2 separate regions of the Homo sapiens genome follow, and region 2 is linked to region 1. Evidence: promoter capture Hi-C in 16 types of primary human blood cells and fetal thymus (Javierre and others, 2016). All regions are on one chromosome and are shown on one strand. The core of a region is centred on a gene start or on the middle of the fragment in contact, and the rest is flanking DNA. Distances in the headings are between cores, read along the strand shown. Region 1 holds the start of LINC01116 (long intergenic non-protein coding RNA 1116). Region 2 has its middle 190 kb from the start of ATP5MC3.

Evidence for each region. Contacts are between HindIII fragments. The CHiCAGO score rates a contact against its expected background, and 5 or more counts as called.
Region 2: a fragment that was not itself captured here is called in contact with the fragment with the promoter of LINC01116 in region 1 in 1 of 17 cell types (M2 macrophages); the score reaches 7.3 in M2 macrophages.

The regions. Positions count from the first base shown.
Region 1 is chr2:176,635,127-176,642,221 of GRCh38, reverse strand. LINC01116 (long intergenic non-protein coding RNA 1116) reads left to right here and starts at 4,613. Exons shown (of 5, transcript NR_188023.1): 1 at 4,613-4,760. LINC01117 (long intergenic non-protein coding RNA 1117) reads right to left here and starts at 4,468. Exons shown (of 4, transcript NR_110599.1): 1 at 4,214-4,468; 2 at 2,649-2,731. RefSeq lists an enhancer at 3,279-3,793 and a silencer at 3,954-4,003. The HindIII fragment of the contact is 4,643 bases long and covers 865-5,507 here.
Region 2 is chr2:175,370,697-175,377,791 of GRCh38, reverse strand. No RefSeq gene overlaps it. Among named protein-coding and RNA genes, the nearest start is that of ATP5MC3, 190 kb to the right of the region's middle. The HindIII fragment of the contact is 1,678 bases long and covers 2,469-4,146 here.

The DNA.
Region 1 (7,095 bases), core at 3,364-5,863:
GTTCTTCATTCCCTGAAATGGTCAGAACACCCATCAAGTATCTTGGAAGAATGCATATCTTTAAAGGCCATAAAGAAAGAACGTTTGGTTAAAAGGAAAAACTGCTCTGCCACCCACTTGTCTGAGTTCTCCTTTCTTCATCTTTAATCAATATGTACATCTGTTCACTTGATGTTTTAATACTAGTTGAGGTAAATTCAGCTTCATCATGTTTTTCCACAGAGGGGAAAAAAGTAACCCTGACTTTTCCTCTGGGCCTTTTCAAATATCTACATGTAGTGGTGGAATGAGCGGAGGACAGGAAAGACCCTGGGAGGCAGGCCTGTGTCTCACCCCACTGGGCCTAGTATTCCAACCACCGCACAAGACTAATTCAAGAATAATAGGCCTGGGTTCCAGCCTTAATCATTTCCATTTTCATTATGGTTTACACATTAATTGTAAATGACCAGATTGATTAGGGACTCTTTAAAGCCAAACAGATTGGGAGGCAGTGCAGGGTAGTGCTAACTGTATATGTTTGACATTTCCATAGACCTGGACTAAACATCCAGACCTGTCATTTACTAGCTGTGTGACCTTGGGAAAGTCACTAGGCTTCTCTGAGCCTCATATTTTCCTTACCTATACAATAGGGATTGTAACTACCTGTATGAAAATTAGTGTGAATAAAATGAAACAATGTATGGAAAAGATTTCGCATAGTGCCTGTAACCATCGTTTATTGAATAAAAGACTGTAATGCATACTGCTCTGATATGTGTGGCATACTGTCTTACCAATTGTCTATTACTTATGTACAAAGCACTGTGGTAAGTGCTATAGAGACCCCTCAAAATTTCGGATGCTCTTTTCTCAAAAGCTTTATAACCCAATTGTTAATCAAGAAGACAACATAGAAATCCGTAGAAAAAGTAAAATTGCAGTTGGATAAAACTTCTCTTGGAGTGCTGCCCACTCTCAGTAGTCAAGTCCACACCTGAGGCTGAGAGTGCTTCAGTCATTGCTTCATGGGTCACACCTGAACCAACTAGGGCACTCAATGAAATAACATCCAATATTCATCCAACAAATATTGATTGACCTACTATGTGCCAGGCACTGTGCTAGGTGATGGATATGTCAGTCTTCCAGGAGTTTGTTTTAAGAAGCACTCAGGGTCTGTTTTAAGCATTTCATATGAATTAACTCTTTAAACTTTTCAACAAAACTAGGAGGGGGGGACTAGCATCAGTCTCATTCTACAGATGAAAAAACTAATCACAGAGAGGTTATATAACTTGTCCAGGGCCACACAGTAATAGACAGCAGAACTGGATTGGAAACAAGCAAAGTGGTTCTAGGGTCTGCCCTGGTATCACCAATACCTTACTGCTTTGTAACAGCACGTTTTCTTATGAGGAGACCATTGCATGCTTCTGGTGTGGCTCCTTTACTCCTGTTTTTGAAGATCGATTCTCTAGATGAAAAGATTGAGGCTTCACTCTTTTCTTTCCTTTCATCACTGAAGACTTGAGAAGGGACTGTGAAGTCGGTGTGGACACTAGTTAGCCCTCCATTAACACAGCTGTGTGCCATCAGTTACCATATTTAAGCCAATCTCTTGGAGTTTTGAATAAGAGTTAAAAACATACTTTGATGCATTAAATGGATCTGCCTTGGGGAGGTTTACTTCATAATTGAACACAATAGATTTTTAACTTGAAAGCTACTGCAGGCTTTTAAGTATTATTTAAATTGTCCCAGACACAAATTACTCATAAAATTGAACTGTCACTTCATAGCAGAATGAAAATTAATATGTTCCTCTTGATTCCTGAACTTGAGCATAAATTCCCTTATGCAAAACACTCTGGAATTTGGAGAGCTAACATCAGAACCTTTTTCTCTGCTCCGTCTCATATCTTGTGTCTCATGTGGTAAAAGGCAAAGAAAACAAGCCGTCAGTAGTAAGCAGAATGAAGGAAGAATATTTAGTCAGGGCCTAACATCACTTTCTTTCCTAGTTCTTTAACTGTTAGAGAAATAATTTGAAAAAGAGAAAGAAAAACTGACTCATATTTGCAAATAGAAAATACCAGAAAAGGAGATAAATGGCTGCCCAAATGATCTCAGGACATAATTATTTTTAAGGTAGGACTGCAGTCCTTCGTAAGCTCTTTTCAGAATCTAGGCCATCACAGACACACAGAAGACTATTAGACCAGGTGCTAAATTTTGTCCATGGTTAGCAAACGACATACAAAAAACTAAACTGCTTCCTTGAAGTTGAAATCAAAGAGCATCATGAGCAGCCTTATGTATTTCTGAATGGGAGAGAACACACGTGTGATGGAGGCAATCCAGAGAGAGGCGCGCTTCCCAGAGGCTGTTTTAAACAGTGACAGATTACAAAATCCTAATGTGATATGTTGGAACATGAAACACACACACACACTTGCTTGTGAAAAACCCTGCTGAAATCCTTAAAAGCCAAAGTTTAGAAGAACACGTGCTATGGATACACCAACAGTAATTTCAAAATCACTCTGTTTATGAGTCCATTCCTCACCTCTTTTATCACTTTGACACACTCTTTAGGAAATAACAGAGAAAGAGAAATATGAAGCTGAAGACAGAAAATTTAATTATAAAACAAAGCCACCCACCTTGCTTTCAGGGTCAGGAGGTACAATGGCCTTCTTTTGCAGCAAGAATGAACTTAACACCCGTGTGTTAAATGATCACGTATCTATTTAAAAGAAAAGGAAATGTTTTTTAAAAGAAATGAAAGCTATATTCTCAGTCCTTCCTATAGCCAAGTCTTACCAAAAAATAAAAATAAAAGCAGTGTACTGTGGCTCTCTGGCACAAGGCAGAAAGCCGAGTCCTTAAGTCACTATTCCCCGGTTTCGCAAAACAAAATAAAACCAAAAAGCAACAGCAAAAGGTGTTTGGCAGGTGGGAAAGGGCCTTAAAACACCTTGTGCCCTCCTGGGTCCCTCCCAATGCCTTCAGTGTGGGCTGTGGAAACAACACCGCTCAACACCAAAGTCACCATCGGCAGTTTAAATGCCACAAAAGTACACTTAGAAATGAGAAGAAAGTGGGGCCGGGCGCGGTGACTGACATGGATATGTACAGCCAACCCCACTGCCACTAGAACAGTCTTAAATGCCCACACAAGGAGTATAAAAAGAAAAGCACATTTTGCAATAGAATAAATTCTTTTTTTTTTTTTTTTTTTTTTTTTTTATTGAGACCGCGGAAAGTCACATGACCCTGCATGTAGCCTTTTAGGAAAGCAACCGAAATGGTAAAGCCAGGAGCCGGGGCTGCCTGCTTCCTCCTGCAGCCTTTCAGCCCGTCCTGTCGCGCGTCCACATTCTTCTGGGCGCATCTGTGGAGCTATTAAGTGGGATAATCCCTCTGGCCTTTGATACATTTCTGGACATGATTATTTCATTACTCGCAGTATATCAGTAGGATCATAATAAAAAGGACTTCTGACAACCTGCCAAGAGTTTTGTGGCCTTGTAAACACAAAAGTGCTCTAATAAAATTTTATTAAGTGTTAAAAAGTCATAAAAAGTGAAATAACATAAACTACAAAATTTACTGTCCTCAGCAAATCCTGAAAATATCTTCCACAGTAAAATTAAATTAGCATGTAATAGACAGAGAAGCAGTGTGGAGTGGATTTAAAAGAGGATCCAGGGAAAATGACACTGTAACCCAATCAGGGTCACGGGGATTTAATTCGGATTTTCCCCCTTAAATGTGGATAAATGTGCTGATTACAGACGAGAGCTCCGGGGTTACTGGAGTCTCACACATTGTCAATACTTCGGAAGAAATAATATATTGCAGATTGTAACGAGCACGGGGAGCCAGCGAAAGGCAGGGCGTCCACTAGGGCGCGCTGAGAGACCGGGAATCCCCGCAAGGGCGCCCGCGCCGCCCGCCACCCGCCGCCGCGCGCACGCCGCGCCCTCGCCCACCTCCAAATAATATTTACAGTTAGGGTTTTTTTTTTTTTTTTTTTTTTTTTTTTTGCTCTCGCCCGTGACATTTTCTCCAAATCGGAAGAAAATCAAGTGTATGTCGAGCTTTGCCGCAGGCAGCCCTTGGTCTCCGCTTTCAGATTCGGGGTCCGGGAGCGGAGCGCCCTGCCCGCGGCGGTGCTAAACTCTGGGGCCAGGGTGTGGCCCTCAGCGAGCGCCCTGGGACTGGCCGCCCCGCCGAAGGATGCCGAGGATCGGGCAAGGCCGGCGTCCGGTCTGCGCGGGGCGCGGGTGCTCTCCGAAGGCCGCGAGCCACGGGCCTCGCTGCGGGTTCAAGTGCGTCCGGGTTTGGACGTCGCGGCTCCAGGAGTGTGCTCTCTCTCCTGCCCATCCCCTCCCCGGAGTTCAGCGCATCCGGGGCCCCGGGGACCCCTCTTCCCGGCCCTCCTGGCCGCGCTGGCCCGCCCGCATGGGGCCGAGGTTCCTGGCCGACGCGCGAGGGCGCGGGCGGGTACCGGGTTCCCGTTTTTCCCAGGCCCCGATCCCCGCCCACGCACGAGGCCCCCGGCCCACGCACGAGGCGCCCACGCCCATCGTGGAGGCTCCGCCTGGAAAAGAAGTCCGACTTCCTCTCCAAGCTGCTCCGAGGGGAATGGGGAATCGGCAGGAAATGACCCGAACTGCCAGCCTGCGCCTTTGCAGCCGGCCCTCGCTTTGCTGAAGACGAGCAGCTCCCACCAAAGTCTTGCCTCCCCTTACCCCGAAAGCCCCGCTCAGGTTTGTAAAGAGGGGTGCGAGATCTGAAAAGTATTTGTCTTCTAGGGAGAGAGATGTTGGTAAGGGGCCCAGAGAAAGACGGGTCCTTTTTAGCTCATCAACGCGCCACGTCTTGCTTTGCAGCTCCAAAATGATGCCAGCGCTGCTGTCCGAAGGGTCAATATTAATGCGTTAAGTGAAATGGGAAATAAATGGACAGTGGCACATTTCGTGGCATCATTTTTACAAGGGGATGTCGAAAGTTTTAAGCTGCATTTAAGAATTAGCCACATCTTGCCTGAAAGTTAATATTTTTTGATAAACTCGTTAATAAAGCCTAGAAGAGGTAAGTTAAAGTTAGTTACCACGTAGATCCTCCAGTCTCTTGTAGAGACTTGCGCAGGTTACTAGGATGAGGACGAGTTGTATTTTTAATTTTCTAGACTAAGTGCAAAGGCATTGAGTTTTGAGGTGGCAGGGTTAATGTTCAAGGGCAAATGGAACCGCCAAGGATCTCTTGAAAAGAATTCACTTACTATTAATACTTAAGCCTGAAATAATTATAATTAATTTACAGTGGGAATTATATGCCCATGTTTTAGACTTTTTTGTTATATTAGCTATATGAAAAGGGATGTTCTTTAGTGATTAAAAGAAAAAACCACCTGTTTATTGTCATTTGCAATTTGAAATAGCCGACAGCAGTAAGGCTAGCTACAAAAGCTAACAAGTCAACTTCAGTGTGGTTTGACATTTACTGTCAAAGCTTTGAGCTCTAAGAAAAACAGAATTTAAAATAATGTATATAAATAATAAAATTTCATTGTGACTCAATGTCCCTGCCCCTGGAGAAGGGACAGATGACACTCAGTGACTGGCTTGGAACCATTCCCCCTGCAGATGCATTTGCGGATACAGTGGGCCAGGGCTGCCTCTGAGTATGTACAGCAAGTGCTTATGGACTTACAGAAACAAATGTTTTACTATTTAGGATTTTCTCAATAGTTTACACTAAAAGTTTTGCATGTAGAAATGTGGGATAAATATTTCTTTGAAAGGAAAAGTTTCGAAAGGAAACTTTATACTTGTATTTTTTTGTGTGTTCACATTTCTAAGTTCATCTGTCTTTCAAAAAACAGATTTTCATAAATATTAAAATATTGCAAGTATTATTTTTAATTCTTTTGAGTGCCATGTTTGCTGTAAGTAGTTTTTTCTTTTAAGTAAGATTAATATAATCCTGTCTAAGGAGTTTAATAGAGAGAACAGGATTTCCAAGCCTATAAATGCAGTCTATATAAAATAGTGGGATCAAAGTTTTTTGTTAAGAAACTTGAGAATTTATACATTTTAAATGAAGATAGAAGCACGTTTTAAAAGTAGTTTTTCCACACCATTTCCCTCCCCCCAAAAGAATTCAGAAACTATATTCCATAGTCTAAAAATGGCATAATCAGATGTAAAAATTATTACCATAATATATAGTTTTCTCAAGATGGTGGATACTTTTTAATATATTATGAAGAGTTATATTCTCAGCCCACTGTGTGTTTGAGGGAATGGAAAAGACAAGATGTTTCTAAACATATTTTACTACTGAAATCCATAAGACTATTAAGCTGTGCAGGTAATTGTGTTCTAAGTGGTAGAAGTATTTTTCCAACTGCTTTTTAAACTTTGAAAAATTTATATGTATTTTAATTAGCACTTTTCTTTTAAAGGTTCCAAATATTTAGCTATATCAGCTATGTGATAAAAATTATTGGAATTTGTTCCCTACTACTTTCTGCATAAACAATTGAGAAATATTTTATACTAATCTTTTTATATACAGGGGATAAATTTGAACATGTGTCTTGTTGGTGTAATAAACAATCCAAATTCATTTCTTTCTTGAAAACTTGGCATCGATCTTCATCTTATTTTTTATGCACACAATTTGGACATGCCAGTTTGTAGGCAAGTTTTAAGACAGTGCAAGTTTTATGTGGAAGAATGTATATTAAGGAATGAATAGCTAATAGCCAAAATTAAATCAGGAGGTGTGGCATTCACTCCTTTGGATGATTATTTTAAAGATAGTTTTGCACTCAGGAAGGATTTTCTTATGCTCTGTATTTATGAATATCTAAATTATCCTGCCTTGCAACTTCAAAACTCAATAACCAAATACCAAATTTATGTATTTTCAGTGTGACTAAGGCTAGGAATATGAGAAGCAGATTGGTTTTATAAAAGAAAGCAAGCATTTACAATTGTATTTTAAAATATAATCCTAATTTCAGTTTCTGACAGAAATCTTGTGGTCAGCTCATCAGTTTTTCAGATCAGTTTCTAAATAGCATATAAAAACTAC
Region 2 (7,095 bases), core at 2,058-4,557, 1.3 Mb after region 1:
CCACTATATGGACATTCAACACACCCACACCCCACTGAAGAAGTGATTGTCTACTTTCTGAAGAGCTTGTTGAATTGTGAGCCAAATGATTATGTATTTCCAAACCCCAAAGCAGAGTGCATGATTTAACCTATGGTCTTAGAATTAAGAGAATATTTGTAATGAAAATGGACCTTGAGAAATCCAAGATGAGTTTTTTTCCAAATTACATTCATTTAAATCTCAGTAAGACTAATCATTGGGTCATGTTAAAGGTAGCTCTCTCACAGAAGAAGGAAACAAAAAACAAAAAGGAGGGGAAAAAGGCAACCTCATTTTTTGCTGATCAAATTCAAGATTTTTCTCTGAAAGGTTTTTCTCCTGTGAAATGTTCAATTTATAAATGCATATAAACAGTACATTATTTTTAGTTATTTATTTAGCATGTAATTTATTTTAAAAATTATATTGGAACTCATGTTAGCTAAGTACAAACATATTAATCACTTCACTGTGTACTTCAGCAAGACAAAAAAGATGGGAAGAAACTATGTTTGCTATTGCTGTTATTATTATTATTATAAGGAGTTCATTTCTAGCACAGATCTCTGTTGTCTTTTTATACTACTTACCCTGAAAATTGCTAAGCAGTAATTTCTGGACCAAAAACATTGTGCTGAGAGATGGCAAGTTCCAGGAAAAAGGTAACCTGGTTGCCACAATTTCAAGAAAATATTCCCTAACAGGTTTCTGTGGGACCAACCCTATGCCTGTGGAGTTTTCAGCCAAAAGGTGCTAGCATTGCAGTCCAGGATGTTTGTGGGAACTTCTAGTCTTTCTGACATTTTGTTATCCTGGTTTTTTACTTTGGGGATGTGACCCTCTTGGACAATCATTGGGAAGTTTAAAAAGGTTGTTCAGTGTGTGTCCCTAACCTCTTACAACCCACAGCCAAAGCAAACCAAGCAACAAAAAGATGAAGGGGAAATAAGAGGGAAATCAAGATCAGAGTGGAGCAAGGGAAGGGCAATTTCATAAGCTGTGGGCCTGTCTGACATGGGGTCCGTTTGTAAACTGAATCTGGTATTTTTGTCTTTTCTTTTCTTTTCGTTTCCTTCCTTCCTTCCATCCTTCCTTCCTTCCTTCCCCCCTTCCCCTTCCCCTTCTCTTCTCTTCTTTTCTTTTCTTCTTTCTTATAAGGTCCTGAGGAGAGAGCTTTCCCAGCTTATTTCTAGGCCAGCACTGAAGCTCAGTGATCTTTTGACTGGGCTCTGCAGCTGCAAGAGACATTGGCCCTATCAGGTCTGCACCCGGCAAGTGTGAGAGCCTATAATCATTCCAGGCAAGTGAGGGCCTAGACCAGGCAAGTCAGGCTAGAGGCAGGACAAAGAGGGCAAACCAAACAGGAAAGCTGTGTGTGTGTGTGTGTGTGTGTGTGTGTGTGTGTGTGTGTGTGTGTGTGTGTGTGTGTGTAAAGCTACATGTCCTGTCTTTCACTCACTTCAGTTCCCTGGTGGGATGTTTCTCTGTCAACATTAGTATCAAGCACTTGAGCACAAATGAAAGTTGGTTTTATGGAAGCCGTTTAAATGGATGCTAAAATGAATCTCTAGAAATCCGAGTGTCCAGGCCCAGGTGGAAACTCATTGTCTGCAAAGTGGGGCACTCATGCCAGGGATTCCTAGATTATCAAAAAAATATCCAAACAACTCTCTTTCACATTCAAATAAGTAAGAGGACCAATAAAGCTTTCTCTCCCTTAAAAGTACTAGCATTTTACAACTGTAAAAGGCTCCACCATAGTCTATATGAAACCCTGATTGCACATGAAATGCCCAGTTAAGCTTGGGGGTTTGGCCACACTGTAGTCTTGCTACAGTACAGGCCACATATTATGGAATTCAGCTTTCAGGATTTCAGACTAATTAGAGAGGCACCCAGTAGCACTATGCGGGTTCTGTCAGCATTTCCACTATAAAACCCCCTTTTCTGGGATTTATAACTTAGCCAATAAAAGATAGCCCCAGGCTGGAATGTGCCACGCAAAAAAATTCAACCTAGGAACAAGATTTTTTGTTTTAAACTAAATTTCATTAAAAATAAGTTCTTGTAAGAACAGAGTAATAAAAATATGCTGGTTTCATTATTTCTGACGTTTTCAACTCCTTGCTTTGTTTAAAAATAAAAAAGGAAAAAATAAATGCATTTTCCAGGCATCAGGTCTAGGTCTCTTTTGGTTGGTGTGTATTTTAATGAAAAATATTTGAGTTATTGGGGCTTAGAAGAAACTATTGCTTGCCACACACTAGTTTTGTTTCACATTTAACATTTTGTTTCAGATTTAACCCAGCTCAAATCGGTTTGGAAATAGAGTGTGCGATGCGTTGAATCATAGGGATTTTAATGGTTTCTCATGATTAGCACGTTAACCACCATCACATTGTAGAGTAAAATTCTAAATACTAGTAAGGCTTACTGAAAGCAAAGCTTTAGGATGACACTAGTGTTTTACATTGTCCATTACTGCTTATAAATGACAACTCCATTTTATACATCTTGGCAAGAGGAAATGGGGAAAGTACAATTTCCATATACTTACTATTATATACCCTTATGTACAAATAAAATTAAACATTATCTCCTTAGCTTTAGTTTATTTTATCCTTGCTAATTATAATTGTGTCTTCTTTGCAGACATTTTATCTTAAAATATTAAAACAGAAGGAGTATTCAAATTTAGCCAAAAACCAAAAAGAAGGTAAAGGAAGGGAAAACCAATATATCTTGAGCAATTAGTCTTATGCCTGCCAGTGTTTTAAGTGCTTAATATGTGTATTCTCAATAAAAATTCAGAGCAATCTCATGAAAATAAGGTCCTGGGAAGTTAAATAACTTTACCTGTGGTCACAAAGTTAATTGACAAAGCAGATATTCAAAGTCAGTGTGTCAGATTCTAAAGACTGTGCTCTTTCTGTTATCATTTACTGTAGAGTCGACTTTCTCTTCCTTAAGTTCATTTATTATAAGACTATTGCCTGGTACATTTCCTCAGTTTCTACCCACAATAACTTTTATATTACCCTTGCTTCTAGTTGGCAGAACTTTCTATTCTTAAAGAAAATGGTGAGAGTGGAGCTAAATTTCTGAGCATTAGATTTCCAGTATGCCCTACTTTCATGGCAACCCCAATAAGATGAAGAACCAGAAAGGCTCTTCCAGAGAAATGCAAAGTGCCCCTTCTAAGGAAACTGTCAAGATTCTCAGGTTCACTCAACAGAGAATTAAATGCAACTTTGAATACTCCAGAAAAGGGCCCTCTAAAAGTCCCTGTCAGCCTGGCCAACATGGTAAAACCCTGTCTCTACTAAAAATACAAAAATTAGCCAGGGTGGTGGCACGCGCCTGTAATCCCAGCTACTGAAGTCTGAGGCAGGAGAATCGCTTGAACCCAGAAGGCGGAGATTGCAGTAAGCCGAAATCACACCACTACACTCCAACGTGGGTGACAGAGCGAGACTCCATCTCGAAAATAAATAAGTAAATAAATAAATAAATGTCCATGAGAGCCCTTTTACAGACAAGCTGAAACTGGGTCTCTCTTTACTAAGGTACACTGACTTCCAGTATGTTTGACTTCAAGGCGTCTGACTTAAGAAAGAGTTATTTTATGCTTTTTTTTTTTTTTTTTTTTTTTTTTTGCAACTTACCACTGAGCTATACCTCTCTACAGAACAAGCTGCATTTGCACTTTTGGAGGCCAATGTCACCTGCGACCTCCTTTTGTCCATTCATATGATATACACTGGGAAGAATGGCTGGGAGTGTCCTGGGGAGTCCCTACTCTGCCAGATGACTTGCTCTTGGCCCCATTGATCTCTGCCCCCATGTGGGAAGGAGCTGCAGGTAAGGGCCAAGAGGCTGGAGAGACATCTCCCTAGCTATCAACCTGTCTTTCCATTTCAAAATATGCCATTCTTCTATCCAGCTACAGCCCTTGCCACAGGGATGATATTTGTGCCATCTACACATAAATGAAAGAAGTAAGGGGTACCTCCAGTAAAAATGTCCTGAATTTTGTCTATTTAAGTAAGAGCCTTAAAGGAAAACCACACGCTTTTAATGGCCTTTAACTGGTTAAAGAGAACAGTAAGTTCCCTCCCAGAAGCTTGAGAACAGAGCTCGTTTCCTTCCGGATTTTTTTCTTGGTTAACCAGACTAGGGAACAAACGAGTTGTAAAATATTTGTTAGGCTGTGAAGCTTAACAAAGAAATGTTAAACAACACTGATGATAATATTGATTTCCTTCTCTCCATTCCTGCTTACTCAGAATGACTGTCCTTGGCTTGTGGCTGTTTGGAGTTATGCAAAGTCTAGGAAGAAGTGGCCCTCGCTGACCACTGGCTGCAGTCAGTTCTGCTTAAAAATTCCCTGGCAAGGTCAACCCACAATTCCTGCCTCTGATTACACAGATTGACTAAGGTACGTTATACATGCATATGCACACATTTGTCCATTTAGGCCTGCTCAGGAAACACCCAATTTACCAAATCAGATTTAGAGGAAAGAACATTTACAGTAATTTATCCATGTTAAAAAGGTTCTCCTCTGCTTAGTAAAAGAAATCACGGCAGGGTTCCTTGAAATCACGCATTTCAAATGATTCCACTTACAGTCAACAGCTCAGCAAAACATCTATAATGCAAAATGAGGAAATGAAGCCTAAGTATACATATCATATGTCTCAAACTGATTACAGTTTTTCTGAGATATATATTCCATCTTGCATTCTTGAGGAAAAAAAATACAAGTATAAGGTTCAAGGGCTTAATGTCTTTAATTTTCTTGACAATTGCCAACAGTATGTGACATGGTGCTTTTTATAGAACCAGAGCTCAGAAAGACTCTGTTACTGAATGACTTAAGGCCTGCAGCACATGGCTCAGTGCCCATTAGGATCATAAATTACTTGAGTAATGCTAATTATTTTTTGCCTTCAGTGCTCATGATCAATATATTTGTGTGTGTGGTTTTTTTTACTTTAAATGTATTTCTTTGCATATATTAAATTTCTCAAGAGTGAGCACAGGACCAAGGGCAGAGACCAAGCATGTCACATTTTTCATTGTTTCCTCTGCACCTGCCCTGGTGAGGAGCACACAGTAGGCACTCAATATCAATTTGTTAAATAAGCAATTGGATCATTGAAAACATCTGCCTTTACTAAGGCAGGTTTAATATACTTGCAAGTATATTCCATAGCATTGCTTTGAAAACTTTTTTCTCTGAAAAACCAATGAGTTGCAGAGAAATTACTGGGGGTTCTTCTAACATAAATGAGTTCATAGGGACATGGTTAATTCCTGCCTGCTCCATAGCTATCAGATTTGCATTCCAGGAAGAAGACCCATGTAAAAGAGCTCTCCAGCTTCAGAACGCTTCAAAAGCCTAATTGCATTAAGTCAATAATACTCTGTTGAGTAATAATTTGCTACCTGACATTAAATGATGAAATGTTATAATAAAATACTAGTATGCTAAATTAAGTGCCAACTAAACAACAGTTCACAAAACCCAGATTCACCACAAGTTAAATTCTAAACCTTCTTCTTTTGATGAGCATTTTCTTCATTTTTCAGCACTGCCATTGCAGACCAGTGACTCCTGGACAACTCACTCCCAGTCTTTGCACCCACTCACTTTCCTTTGCACCCCCTTTCCCCACAGCTTAAATCTTCTCATCAGGGACACAAGCTAACTCTCATGCATGCCCTATGGAAAGCAAGCTCCTATGGGAAGGAAAAAAACAAATGTCACCAGACTCCCGAAGCATGTGACCCTGGATCCAACAGAAGACATTTCAATTTTCAGACCACTCTCTTCCATTCACCCACAGGTCTGTGGGCCACAGTCTGAACTAGCCACTTTCCTGTCTGGCTGTCAGTCTTTACTTCTCTTCCTTAAGTGAAAGAGCAAGAAAATAAAGAAAAAAGAAAAGTATCTGAAATTTTAAGGACACAGATAACAAGGAAGGGGAGTATTAAATAGTTTTGAAGTGTTTTATATCTCAGTTTTTTCTTCTTCCTTTTTTTTCTCCACCACCCTACCCCCAGCCCCACCAGGAGTGATTCTGAAGTTCTACTTTGCTTGCCAGCTCTGCACTGAGCTCTCACTTCCCAGCACTCATCAGGGATGATTACAAGCCACATTCCCTCAATAAAAGCAAATAAGGAAACAGCTTTCCTTTACCATACTGACCACATATGTGTGTAGTGAAAGTGGGAAGGAGAGACCATAATATATGTCCTAGCAACACAAAAGCACACCCTCCACTTTGCATACATATTTACCCAATTTCATCTAGAGGTCCCATGTGCTTCAATTGCTCATTTATTCTTCAACCTTAGATAAGGAGATGAGGGAGGGGGAGGGACAGACAGACCTATAGATGACAGATCTGTAGCCAATGTTGTTAGCATGCCAGATCTTATTACAGGACCATGGGAGGTCATGCACGCCACATCCAGACTCCATGGGGACCACCACATTTAAAACAAGATGAAAAAAATGTGATGTAGGGGAAAAAACCCTCATGGGCAGCCTTCAAAGGCAGAGACAGGTTGTGACTGGATTAACATTTATTGACTGTTTAAGCCTGCTTTTTTGCTTCAGGACAGAGATACATGAGTTTAATTGCAGAGGCTGTTCTGCCAACTGATCACCAGAGTGGCAACCAAAGCTTAACTAATCGGTCCTTCATTAGTGAAAAGTCTCTATTACAAAACAAATTAAGCATGCTCTGATCCTAACCTACAGGTCCAATGGCATTACGGCAAAGTTTAAGCTGTTAGAGCTGTGAAAAACTTATTAAGGGTTAGCGCTGAGATAGCACTTGGCTATTGATTTTACAATACACAGGTATTATGATTTATGGAGTGCTGGTGTCACTCTAACAAGCTGAAGGACACACAATATCATCTCCAGCATCATTAAAATTCAGAAGCCTCCAGAACTAACTCATCAACCATTGTGCATTGTCACAGACTACGGAGCCAGGCCCCAGCTTCAAAACGTCCGAAGCTTTGAGACAGTCACCTCCCTGCTTGCTTGGCAATCAG